Regions from separate parts of the Homo sapiens genome. Here regions 2 and 3 are each linked to region 1. Evidence: promoter capture Hi-C in 16 types of primary human blood cells and fetal thymus (Javierre and others, 2016). All regions are on one chromosome and are shown on one strand. The core of a region is centred on a gene start or on the middle of the fragment in contact, and the rest is flanking DNA. Distances in the headings are between cores, read along the strand shown. Region 1 holds the start of RPS23 (ribosomal protein S23). Region 2 holds the start of TMEM161B (transmembrane protein 161B). Region 3 holds the start of CCNH (cyclin H).

Region 1 (4,240 bases), core at 320-2,819:
TGGGAGGATCTATGCCTAGAACGTCAAGATGGCCAGCCTGTGTGACAAGGGACCCTATCTCAAAAAAAAAAAAAGAAAAAAGAAAAAAGGTATCTGAGGTAAGAATTAGAAAGTCTGGGCCGGACACAGTGGCTCACGCCTGTAATTCCAGCACTTTCGGAGGCCGAAGCAGGCATTATCACCTGAGGTCAGGAGTTTGAGACTAGCCTGGTCAACATGGTGAAACCCCATCACTACTGAAAATACAAAATATTAGCTGGTGTGGTAGTGGGCGCCTGTAATCCCAGCTACCTGGGAGGCTGAGGCAGGAGAAATGCTTGAACCTGGGAGGCTAAGGTTGCAGGGAGTCTTGCGCTACTGCACACCAGCCTGGGTGACAGAGCTAGACTGTCTCAAAAAAAAAAAAAAAAAAAAAAAAAGTCTGGGTTAAAATGGCTCTACCATCAAATATGATAGAACTATATGAAATTATTATTTTAAAAAGTCAAAACCAGTCAAATACTGGCAGTTTCATGTCTCAATCTTAGGTGTATGACCTCAATTAATTCTGATGCAAGTCACTTCTCTTCACCTTAGTTTTATCAAGTCGATAAAGTTCAATAGCTGACACGTGCCATTTACTTATAACAACTCCCACAGTAAAGGTGTTTGTGTCCTTTACTTCATCATTGCTAGTATCTTCTCCAATTCCTTCCAGGCCAACGTTAAATTAAAACCTTAACTACCTAATTCCCAAAAACTAATTTTACCAACTTTTAAATAGAACAAACGCTTTGCAATTTTACCCCACAATGCCCAAATGAATACTACTACACAAAAACCTGCAATTACTTTCAAAACAAGAATTCGTAAGTTCATGTCTCGAATTCCTATAATAAACTAAAACTTGACGGGAGCAATGGACTTACACTTTTTCCAGCACGATTCCTTTTGCATGAGAAGCACCTCCAAAAGGGTTGGCCTTTAGGGCTGTGCCCAAATGAGCTTTCTTATACTGTTTATCATGCCACTTCTGGTCTCGTCGGTGACTACGGAGCTTCCTAGCAGTACGAAGTCCACGACACTTGCCTAAAAATTAAATATTTTAGTTCTTCCGTAAAAACACGCCATCTACGTGTTTCCCATCTTCTAAGACACTCGCCTCACCTGGAATAAACCCTTAAGCCGATTGGCTCTCGTACTATTTATTGGCCTGTGGGCCAAACATTTGGCCTTCAAGTTGCCCTGAACCGACTAATAAACGTTCGAAGAGGGCTCCGGAGAATGTGTTCTCCCGAAGGACGAGGCCCCGCTCGAATGCCCGGGAGGAAGCGCTGGCCTCCCTGCGTCCCTCGGTACCCCGACCTCGGCGGCCTCCACGCCTCATGGGCCCCTTCCGCGCCGGACCACGTGCCTCCTGGAGCGGCGCTTCCCCGGCCCTCCCCCATGGAGCCTCTCCATGGCATCCCCCGCCCTACTCTATTCGCATCCGCCCGCCCGTCCCCAAGACCCCAAGTCCCGCTTGCAGCGCCCTTAAACCGGCCACAACAGCTCACCCATCCTGTCGGCGCCACGGGCCTGAGCGAAAGAGAGAAGCACCGCAGGAAGGAGCCACAAGCCACCGCGAGCAAGCCCCGCCCAGCCAAGGACCCCGCGCCGCTGTCTGCGCCGCGCCTGACCCGAGGCTGGGGTCTCTCCTTTGAAAACGACGCGTTTGCATCACTTTCCTGAGCCAGAATCTGCGTCTTATTTAATTTGCAAGAAATTCAGAGATATCTAATTTGCATGGTTTTTTTTCCCCCTTTTTCTTTTGAATGCTGGAGACCGGAGGAACATGGACTACCAATCCCAGAATGCGTTTTATGGGACCCGCTCACCGCGCAGGCGCTCTTGCCCAAGCCACTGAGAGCGGGACGCGGGGCTAGGTCAGAGTAGGAAGGAGTCGCTGAGCTGAATCTTTGTGGAGTGGAGTGGGGCGAGAGTCCTCCGAGTAGTCTGGAAAATTAGACTTCTGAGCCTTAATTCATACTTATAAGCAGCTAGTAAATTGTAAAATATAGTGAAGCAATGTAGTGTAGTAACTAAAACCCCAAGCTTTGGAGCCAGATTGGGCCTTTAACCCTAAAGTTGCCGTTTATTTTGACTGGCGAGTCATTTACTTATAGATTTATTTATTTTTATTTTTATTTTTTTCTGAGACAGGGTCTCACTCTGTCTTCTAGGCTGTTGTGCAGTGGTGCGATCTTGGCTCACTACAACCTCCGCCTCCCGGGTTCAAGCGATTGTCCCACCTCAGCCTCCTGAGTAGCTGGGATTACAGGCTTCCACCATCACGCCTGGCTGATGTTTGTATTTTCAGTAGAGAGGGGGTTTCACCATGTTGGCCAGGCTGGTGTCGATCTCCTGACCTCGAGTGATCCGCCCGCCTCGGCCTCCCAATGTGCTGGGATTACAGGCGTGAGCCACCGCGCCTGGCCATTTAATTAACTCTTTAATACTGTTTCTCCTGTAAGATGAACTAGCTGTGAGAGGTTTCTGGGATATTGGTTCACTCAGCAAGGATGTTTAAAAATGCCTTCTATGTGCCAGACGCTGTTGTAGGTACCGGGAATATGGCGGTTAAATTAAGAGGGTGAAGGTTTCTGCTCTGATACAGTTTATATTCTAAATGTGAGAGGACAGACCAGTTAGATAGATGTAAATTAAATAATTAAATAGATGATTTTTACATACTGTAGAGCTATAGAGAAAATATAGCTGGATGGGTGATAGTGACTTGGGGATGGGGGTGGCTACTCTGGATAGGGTAGTTTAAGGTGACATCTCTGTGCAGATGTAGAATGGGCTAGTGCTTTCTAAGAACTGAAAGATCAGTGAAGAAGGGGAGCATAGTGACTGAGGAGTAGTGTGGCATTAGATGGGGTCTGAGAGTTACACAGGAACATGTGGAGCCTGTAGGCCATGGTAAAGCCTTTTTCTACTCTTCTGGTGATTTAAAGCCATTGTAAAGTTTTGAGCTTGGGAGTAGGTAGCAAAATAAGATTTATATTTTTATGGGGTTACTCTGGCTGTTGAGAGGAGAAAAAGACATGAATCTGGGAGGCCACTTGGGAAGGTATTGCAATAGTTCAGATGAGAGATGGTGATAGCTTGGACCCTCAGTGGAGACAGTAAAAAGTGGTTGGGTCAGATACACTGTTTGGTGGTAGAATGAACAGAATTTGCTCAGGACTGTAGGATGTGAGAGAGGAGTTAATTACAGCACTATGATTTTTGACCTCAGCACTTGGGTGAGTTGTAGAGTTGTGAGTTGTGAGTTGGGTGAGTTCCAAAGTGGGAAATACGAGGAGAGGAGCAAATTTCAAAGGAGGAAATGAAGAGTTCTGGTTTGGATGTGTTAAGTTTGAACTGTCAAACATCCAGGGATGTGAAGTGGACAGTTGGATATATGATAAGAAGCTGAGGAGTAATCAATGAATAAATAGTATTAAAACTGTGGCTCTAGTTGAGATAGCTTAGGTGATGACTGTAGGTAGAACAGAGATTAGAGTCCTGAGCACACCAAAGTTTAGTGGTACAGAAGAGAAGGCAGGTGAAGCAAAACAGATGAAGAAAGAGTGGCCAATGTTACACTCTGTTCAAAGCCAAGTGAAGAAGGGAGTGAGAAAGTGTGAAAAGAGATAAGATGAGGACTGAGAATTGCCTTTTGGACTTGAAAATGTGGAGATTACTGGTCACTTTGTCAAATGGGGACTCCATGGAGTACTGAAAGTGAAAGGCGATGGGATCGGAGTGAAGAGAATATGGGAGGGAAGGAAGTCTAGACAGCAACTATAGACAATTTTTGAAAGACATTTTTTATGTGCAGAGAAATGGCACCCTATTTGGAGGGGAATGTGGAGTTGGAGGGTTTTATTTTTAAGATGGCAACTTTTATGACATTTTTGTATGCTGATCAGGTTGAGAAAATTAAAAATGGGTTATTCAGCAGAGAAGGGATAATTGCAGGAGCAACTCCTTAAGTAGACTAGAAGGGTACCCAAGTGGAGGAGTTAACTGTAGGAACAATAACAGTTTATGTATGGTAGTAGAGTGACAGGTACAGCTGCAAGTAAATTGGAAGATTTGATGATAGGAAGTTGTGGAACTTCTTCACTTTTGACTTACTTTTTCAATTTTTTCAATGAAATAAAAAGCAAGGCCATCAGTGAAGAGAAAGAGTGGGAGAAAAAGGTTTGAGGAGAGAAGGTAAGATGTGAAA
Region 2 (4,240 bases), core at 1,240-3,739, 6.0 Mb after region 1:
AAAAAAATGAAAAAGAGAATGATAAAAGAAATCAAACTTAAGCCAAAATGGCATGGAAACAAAACAGTGGAAATCAGACTAACTTTTATTTAATCTGAAACATGTAACTATCCTCAAAAATGTTGAGTAGTCATGGAATCATAAATTTAAGAAGGTGCTTTAATACCCATCAAGTCCCACTTCTCTTACCCAGGAGGAATTTGGAACTCTTATCAAAATTGAGTGACTTTTCCAAATCCATATAACTAACAATGGGCAGAATCTGGGTCCTCTGGGGTCAATACTAATGTTCTTTTCATAATATCATTAGGCCCCAGCAATGCAAAACAAGTTCTGATTTCAACAAGCTGAATCCTCAATAAATTCAGCCCATGTTCACTTCATTTAATGGTTAAACTCTTCCCTTTGAAAAATTCCAAGCATTAACCACACTTGCATATACAGACATTATCAATTTCATAGCTGGGAAAGATAAAACTCAGCCAAGATAATTAGCTCAGAAATATAAGCACTTCCAGAAGGAAAAGAGCCAACTAGTTAGTTCCAAAATGACATTCAGAAAAACAGCATAAGATTACATTAGTTCCAAACATTAACCATCTCTTTTGAACCGACAGGATAAGCAGGATTCTACTTCTAGTATTCCAAAACACTGAGAACAAGTTCATGTTCAGCTTTTCTGTGACTATGATGAACTTAAGTATTTTAATTATACTTTACCTTCAACTTTTCAGACCAAAAAGTCAAAAATTAATCTTAAATTTAAAAAATGAAAATATGAGTTTTAGTCCAGACTGCCAAACTACTGTTACTTTAGAAAAATCACTGTCAATTTCTAGACCCCAGATTCTTTCTTCTGTAAAAATGGGGATGGAAGAGTGATTACTAGGCTTTGGTTTCTCCCAGTTCTGTTTTCCCTATCCTTGTCTAATTTCACTGATACAAAAGAAAAACAACTTTCTTAATACAAACCATATTATTCACTGAGGCTTAAAAAAAAAAACTTTAAAGAGATAGGTTATCTGGTAAAGTGCACCAGGAACTACATTATTTTGAAGGTCTTTGTTCTACATTCAGCTAAGTTTCTAAAAGTCATTCAAAAGCCAATCACCACACACATTAACTGAATGTTGGCAATATTTGGCCCTGAAAATATAAGACAAACTGAAGCTAAATTCCAGGACAGAAGCCTCTGCAAGTGAGGGTTTGAAATCTTGTATACGGTGAAGAAACTGACAATAATGAACTTCACCAGAGCCCCGTGATCTTGAAAAACAGCAAAGGTTAAGAAACCCCTTGCCCCCGTTTGTGTTCTGAGAAATTGGCTTACTGCAAAGAATCATCTTTCCTGTAGAACTTAGATAAGACTAAGGGTTGATCCATACCCCCCTACCCCTTGTTTACCTATAACAAGGCCATAACTAGACCCTTCTAATTCCCATCCTTTGCTTCGTAAATGACTTGCTGAAGTACCTGTCCCACAGATCAATCGGAACAAAATACTTATTAACCAAACTTTAAGATTCTCTTCTCTCGGGTACCTGAATTTTGTCCTTCCCTCAGTCTGAAACAACATATACAAACCTCTCCTAACAGCTCCTCCTCAGAATACATGGGCTCAGGGTAAAACATTATCTGGTTACTGCCGGATCATACCCATATTTTCATCCCAATTCCTGACATCTTATTTACCCCTACCAACAAAAGACAAACCCTTTCTGCCTAACCTTTAAGGTGCATGCAAATCTTACGGTCATTCTCCCTACTGCAACAGTTCCTTCAACCTTCCTCCACACCCCTGCAATATTCCTTTCGAATAAAGTCTGTCCTTACTAAACTCGGGTTTTTTATTTGACACCCTTTTCAATTATGAAATGGCTAAGTGTAAAGAATAAGGGGACTACCGTTTCTTTAAATGACAGGTGTTGATCTTATACAAGGAGACCCGTTGTGTCCACCTGGAGAGGCTAAAAGCATTTCTAAGATCTGAAGTTCTTGGCCACTGTTCCGCGGATGGAGAAGGGGGCGCAGAAGAGGTGACTGACCCGGCAAGGTCAACTCTGGGATCACCTGGCGCCACAGGCCATACACAGTAAATGGGCCATGAACAGGCAGGCTACCCAGTCCATACTCCCTGACAGATACGCCCCTGCCTCCGGCCCGCTAGTCTCCCAGACAGGTAGGCGTAATGCTGCTTCCTCAGGGGCTCAGACACCCTGAGATAGGTGGTGGGTCCTACCCAGCAGCTCATCCCAACGTCTCAACTCCATTCTGAGCAGAGCACCTGATGGCTCTTTTCACAGTACTGACCTCCCCGCCCTTTTCGCCCCACCGTTGTCACTCCTGCCCTCACAGAAGAACTCACCATGGCGCCTAGGATAGGTCGTGGACCAGACACCCTGGAGTTGCCGGGGCAGTCCCAAACCTCTTACCTCCCGGTCCTTGAGCCGAGAGACTCTCAAACAGCGAAAGAGAGGGTCTTCCGGCTCTGCCGGAAGTTGTGCGCGCGCGGGACAGGAAGTTCCTCCCTTCTCCAGAGCGCCGTCGACCCCACGCCACGCAGAGGTGAAGATACGCAGGACGTCCTCTAAAGCAACTTCCGTGGGTGCCAGGTTGTGGGCTGGGGGCGGTGCTGACCTTGAGAGAGCGGAGGAGGCGCAGGCGCAGCACAGGTACGTGGGCGGGCGGATCGTGGTGGCTGCGCTTGCGAGGACCCTGAGGTAGATTGGGTGGTTTCAACAGGAACGCATCCACTGTCTGAGAGGTGACGGAGGCACACGTTGGTGTGGGGAGCGGGAGGGGAGAGGGAGGGGGGCGGGTGGGGGGCGGGAGGGGGCCAGGGGTGGGAGTGAGGGTGCGCGATGGGAGTCGACTCCAGACCCAGGTGATTTAGAGAGAGTAAAGACCACCTTTGGCCGTCATTTTGTCTCAGCTTAACTGACGCCCTCTTGTTACCCTCTAGTTTTCCTGACTCGGTCCCTTATTAGCATATCCTCATTTCCACAGACCTGTCCGTCTGTTGCTTCTGTTCCCTGCCTTAGTGGGTACCGTAGCTCTACCCTCCTTCCGGGCAATGGAATCTCATAGTGAGAAGTTTCTTCACTATTCACAGGTGGCAATTGAAGCCGGAAGAACATCTACCAAGAGCAGAGAACCCAGGAAGAAAATTCTGCCTCTTTAATACGTTCCAATATGGACGTTTTCCATATAGATACCTATCTATATAGATAGATGCTCTGGGATCTGACGGTCCTGGACACCTGTATGGCTGTGTGCTGTGGTCTTTGCCTAGCCTGCGGTTCACTTTTGCTCTGGCCACCACCTCCCCTCATGTACAAACCGCGTCTCTGCTCTGCCAGTCTTGGCCCCCGTCAGGCAGCGGTTCACTCCCTCACCAGGGAAGTCTAGATAGATAGATATAGATAGATATCGATCGATAGATATAGATATATATATAGATAGATAGATAGGTAGATATATGGATAGATATAGATATTTGGATAGATATGTAGACGTCTATCTATAAATATATCGATATATCGGGGTTCTCAGCCATCCCAAAGAAGCTTGCACAGGGCCAGTTGCTTTATGTCAGGAAAAGGGACACAGACTGAGTGTATGAGGGTTTTTTTTTTCTATAGATGTATAGATATTTATATCAGATGCAAATAAGTGAAACTCTCATACAACTTTTAATTTTGTGTTTTTTCCAAACTCTATTCCATTCAACTTTTTCTGCCTTTTTATTTGATTATAATGAGACATCGTACTGGAGGCAGGCTTGAAATGGATATACAGAGCACTTTCAACCCAGAAATTTGTCTCACGACTTGGGGTCCTTACTTAAGTTGTAGCTGTTAGTAATTTCATCCATGAATTCACTTTGTGCCATAGTGTGATGTTTTGTTATGAAGTTGGAATTGGGAAGGGAAACTAGGAAGTTTTGGGAGAAGTTAAGAAGGTTGAGTAGGCAGGCGTTGTTATAGATATTAAATTTCACCCTGCTTATCAAAGTACCTGGAGCGTATGGTATCCAAGCTGTAAATGGCCCAAAGGAATCGGGGTTCTCAGCCATCCAAAAGAAGCATGCACAGGGCCAGTTATTTTATGTCAGGAAAGGGGACACAGACTGAGTGTATGAGGGTTTTTTTTTTTGTTTTTTTTTTTTAGTTTAAACTTGATTTTGTGAGGGGACGAACAGCGTGACAATTAAAAGAAGATCTGGGAATCGTAAGTACTG
Region 3 (4,240 bases), core at 973-3,472, 5.1 Mb after region 1:
AAAAACAAATAGGTCCTCAGAACCATACATCTGAAACAATAAGGCAATCTTTTTCACCAAAGATAAAACTCCAGCTTCTACTAATCAAGGCTTAAAAAAATCTTATGGTATCAGTTTCAGCTGGGGCATATGATTACCAATGATGAATGAATGCATTATTTCAAACATTTATTGGGTGTCACAGAGTTGGAAAAGCAGTAGTCTATGTTCTAGTCCCAGTCCTATGGCTCATTAGTTGAGAACTTAGAGGAAAGTAATTTATTTTTTTTCTTTCTTTATGACATTACCTGACCTCAAATTTTTTTCTGACCACAAAGTGAGACTTGAAATACTTTTGAAGATATGATACAGCAACTCATGATTTAAGGCCTGTATTGAAAAATATATAATGTGCCAAAAACTAATTAATTGTAACTAAGGTGAATTTTTAAGACTTGAGTGGACAGGGAATTTAGAAGAGGTCAAATTTCACAAGCCAACTAAAGGACATTATATTTCATCACCACTGTAACTTACCACAACAGATCTTGGCATTGCTGGCTTAAACACCGAACAGAATTCCAATAACCTTTTCTCATAGTATTTGCAGAGTGTCATTTCTTCATGAGGCTCAAGAAAGACTGGATCATTCGGAAGAACCTTTAGATCAACAATTACAACACAAGTTCAATGAATTCAATGAATTAAACAATTGTAAAACATTTTTCTCTATCTAGATTAAATTTAGTTTATATATCCAACGAAGGGTATATATCACGCCTCATTTTCTTTATAGATTCGCTAATCATTACACAAAATAGCTGTAGGAAAATATTTAATAAACTAAAACTGTACCATCATTTCACGACTTTTCGGAATGTCAGCTAGACCTTTGCTTCATTAAAGTATAAACAATCATGACAGGCTGTGTGCACATGCTCACAGTTGTGATATCATTATTTATAAATTAAAAAGTAGACAGACTTTTTAAAATATGATTGGAAAGCTTCCAACATCCGTTTCTCGGTCAGTCATTACGTCACAAGTTGTAAAAAAACAGCAAATGTTTCAATAAATTTCTGTTATTTTAAGCTACCCAGTTTGTGGTGATTTTTTTAAGGCAGCCCTTAGGAAACTAATTCAGGTGCTAAAATCAGTGATATGAAATAGATGTGAATTAAAGGTAGAAAGTAAAGTAACTCAGTATCGGTAATTTGGAGGCACTGAACACTTGCTGGAGTGGAGCTTGCAGGAAAGATTAAACCAGTCCGAGAGCTGTAACAGAAGGAACTTGGCTAGCGGGCCATAGTCCAAACCATCTTCAGTCACTTGGTTTGTACTTGGTCTCTGGTCTCCCTCCCTCATCCAACCCATTCACCACGAGGTTGCTAGAGCGCTGTTTCCAGAACGGAAATCTGATAAGGTTAGCTTCCCATTTTAAATATTTCAAAGGTTCCTCATCCTTTCAGTGGAAATGTTAAACGCCTCACTTCCACTTACAAGTTCCCTTCCTACCCTCCCCAGCCATTCCTGCACAGGTACTCAACTTCGGCCACATACGACCACAAACACGTCCACGCACCATCTCTGTAACTTCTGACCTCCCTCCCACTCTGAACGGTGGTTCTGACTGCCTGGAACTTCCTTTCCCATTTTCTCCGCATTGGCTACTGGGAAAAACCTTCCCCAACATCATCTCTTGACAAGTGAACGGCTCTTGCCACGCACTACCTTAGCACACTACTTACTCTCTTCTTCACTACGTTACAAAGACTGGTTACTTGTCTGCCATTCGACGACGGGGATGGCGTTGTTCGTCTTTGTACCCACGGAACCTGGCAAGGTGCTCGCTTATTTTGATAGAAAAACGCACTCCGCGCCGCAGAGGCAGAGAAACGACGGAGCGAGATTGTCCTGGGAGCCAGAAGAGCTCCCGCAGCTGCTCAGAATTTAGTGACCGGGCAACTGGGCAACCGTTGGGAAAACCTCACCTTCCCGTTGGCCACGGCTTTGCATCTGAATTTGCGGTTGGCGTCAGCCCGCAGTCTTGCCAGCTGCTCCTCGCTGGAGAAGGTCCAGTGCCGCTTCTGACTACTGTTGTGGTACATTATGGAATCGTGACCAGGTCCAGAGGGTCTGCAGACGAGAACCCAAACGCATCAGCGTCCTGGCGTAAAACACCCGTACCCCCACCGAAGATCTCGCGGAAGCCTAGGGCGTCCGGCTAGCCGGCGCTGGCGCGCTGTCGTCACGATTACGCGGCCAGCCCGTACGCAGTTGCATTTCCGGAGCGGACTAGGAACAGACCGTATCCCGGGTTCGTTAGGGCGCCCACTGAGACGTAAGTGGGCGGAGCCTAGAGAACGCTCCTCTCGGTGAGTCTGGGACATAGCTCCGCCCCTTCCAGGCAAGATTTAAAGGAGAAGCGCCCGGCAAGAGTGTTCAAGGGGCATAAACTGAGGGTACGGAGTAGGCAGATGTAAATTCACAGGGGATAATCAGAAATGAGGAAAGGATTTCGTAGGGTGCTCATTTTTAAATAGAGGCCTCACTGAAGTTGACATTTGTGAAAAGGCTTGAAAGAGTTGAAATAGTAGGTTGATCAATCATGTAGGGAGATCACGGGGCCCAGAAAGAATAGGTAAGATCTTCAGGCAGAAGCATTCCTAGCCCTTTTCAGGAAGAGTTTGGAGACCAGTATTCTTGAAGCACTACCAGAAATCTCGGAGAATGGAACATGGCTGAAAAACTTGAAGCAGTGGATGCGTATTGGCCCTTACAGTTCTGCCACTTTTGTTGCCTTGTCTGTTCTTTCTCTGTGCTTTTTTTCCTTACCCTTCTGTTGATAACTAGCCAATCCTCTCCCTCTGTTTTCATCTCTGAAGCCAGGATGTATGGTAGTATTCGTTTTATTGAGATTCCCATTTTCATTGCCTCTAGGGAGCCTTACAGTAAGCTATCATGAAAATTAAGGTATTTACTATTTTTTAAATTAATAGGACTTTCAAAATTGCAGGTGAGGTTCAAAATTTACATGGATTCTGGTTTGTCCCATTTAGGCATACCTTATTCTCTCATGTATTTATTATATATCCAATCCGAAAAATGGATTTCCCTATGGCAAATAGCTTTTCTAAAAAATAAATAAATAAATAAAAAGAAAGAGAAAGATGATGAGACCTAGAGAATTTAGGTCTTGAAAAGCCCACACAGGTAAAAAGAAGAAGTGGCAGGATGACTTTAACTCTGCTTTCTATTAAAATGTTTTTAGGGGCTTAAGAAAGGGAAAGCCTTTTCTTTTTCATTTTTGTTGGGTACAGCTGAGGTTAGAGTTTGCCACAGTTATCTGAATTCCTCAAACTTATGCCATTTGTGGTATATAATTTTGGAGAGCCACACACTCAACATATGTGGCTAACCTGGTCTCATAAATTGGCTAAGAAAAGAGAGAAAAAGAGAAGATCAAAGGGCATGGCAAATTGATTACAATGAATTGTGAACAACCTAAAATGTTGCATGTTGGGGAAAGAATAATTTAAAAGAGAAAAACATAATGGTACAAAAGATAGGAAAATAAGTGATCTAGATAATTAAATGTCTATATAAAGTCTTAGCCTCATGACTGTTATATATATCATATAAATTCTTTTCATTTTGTTTTTCTGAAAGATATTTGACAACTCCTTAGTTTTATGTAAAGGATAATAAAAATAGGCATTTAAAAGAGTTGGCAGACTGTGATTTCCACAGAGATATGAGTAAAATTTCTGAATGTCATTTAGGAAAAATATATGAAAAACCTGGCATTGCTGGTGTAATTTTTTTTAAACCTTGAACAAATTTTAGTCCATGAAAATTGACATTGATCTTATTTTTCAGATGTAGTAGGAATTGGGCTCTGTCTAAATTAACTGTCTGAGGAATACAATTGTTGCTGATGCCCTAACATTAAGGCTCATGTATGGTTTTTCTTACTAAGGTAAGCAGACTGGATGCTGTGACAGTCTCCTACTCAGCCTGTTGTGCGACAGTGTTTCTTTGCTATTGCTACCACAGGAGGCACACTGGAATGCAGAACTTGTGCCTTTACCTATTTCCATTTCTAGTTTCAACTAAAAAGTAGCAAGTGTTTCTCTTCACTTCTATTATTTTTACTTATTTATTTATGGAGAATTTCAAATATAAAGAATACAGAGAAACATATTTCAAAAATTATCAATACATGGCCAGTTCCCTTCTACCCTCCACCCACACCTCCATT

What was found. The method cuts DNA at HindIII sites, captures the fragments that hold promoters and counts their contacts. A CHiCAGO score of 5 or more calls a contact.
Region 2: a contact is called between the fragment with the promoter of TMEM161B here and the fragment with the promoter of RPS23 in region 1, in 2 of 17 cell types (total CD4 T cells and total CD8 T cells). The highest score is 6.8, in total CD4 T cells.
Region 3: the fragment with the promoter of CCNH here is called in contact with the fragment with the promoter of RPS23 in region 1 in 1 of 17 cell types (naive CD8 T cells); the score reaches 7.9 in naive CD8 T cells.

Annotation. Positions count from the first base shown.
Region 1 is chr5:82,276,785-82,281,024 of GRCh38, forward strand. RPS23 (ribosomal protein S23) reads right to left here and starts at 1,570. Exons shown (of 4, transcript NM_001025.5): 1 at 1,536-1,570; 2 at 909-1,068. The coding sequence starts at 1,539. It also overlaps the pseudogene ATP6AP1L. RefSeq lists an enhancer at 1,561-1,890. The HindIII fragment of the contact is 8,285 bases long and covers 1-2,071 here.
Region 2 is chr5:88,266,356-88,270,595 of GRCh38, forward strand. It overlaps TMEM161B (transmembrane protein 161B), which reads right to left and starts at 2,490. Exons shown (of 12, transcript NM_153354.5): 1 at 2,366-2,490. The coding sequence starts at 2,368. It overlaps TMEM161B-DT (TMEM161B divergent transcript), which reads left to right and starts at 2,527. Exons shown (of 3, transcript NR_039995.1): 1 at 2,527-2,672; 2 at 4,171-4,230. RefSeq lists enhancers at 2,277-2,776, 2,467-2,656. The HindIII fragment of the contact is 4,710 bases long and covers 1-3,564 here.
Region 3 is chr5:87,410,708-87,414,947 of GRCh38, forward strand. It overlaps CCNH (cyclin H), which reads right to left and starts at 2,223. Exons shown (of 9, transcript NM_001239.4): 1 at 1,971-2,223; 2 at 517-639. The coding sequence starts at 2,087. It overlaps LOC105379066 (a long non-coding RNA gene), which reads left to right and starts at 2,275. Exons shown (of 3, transcript XR_948543.1): 1 at 2,275-2,354. RefSeq lists enhancers at 1,850-1,979, 2,010-2,179. The HindIII fragment of the contact is 6,680 bases long and covers 984-4,240 here.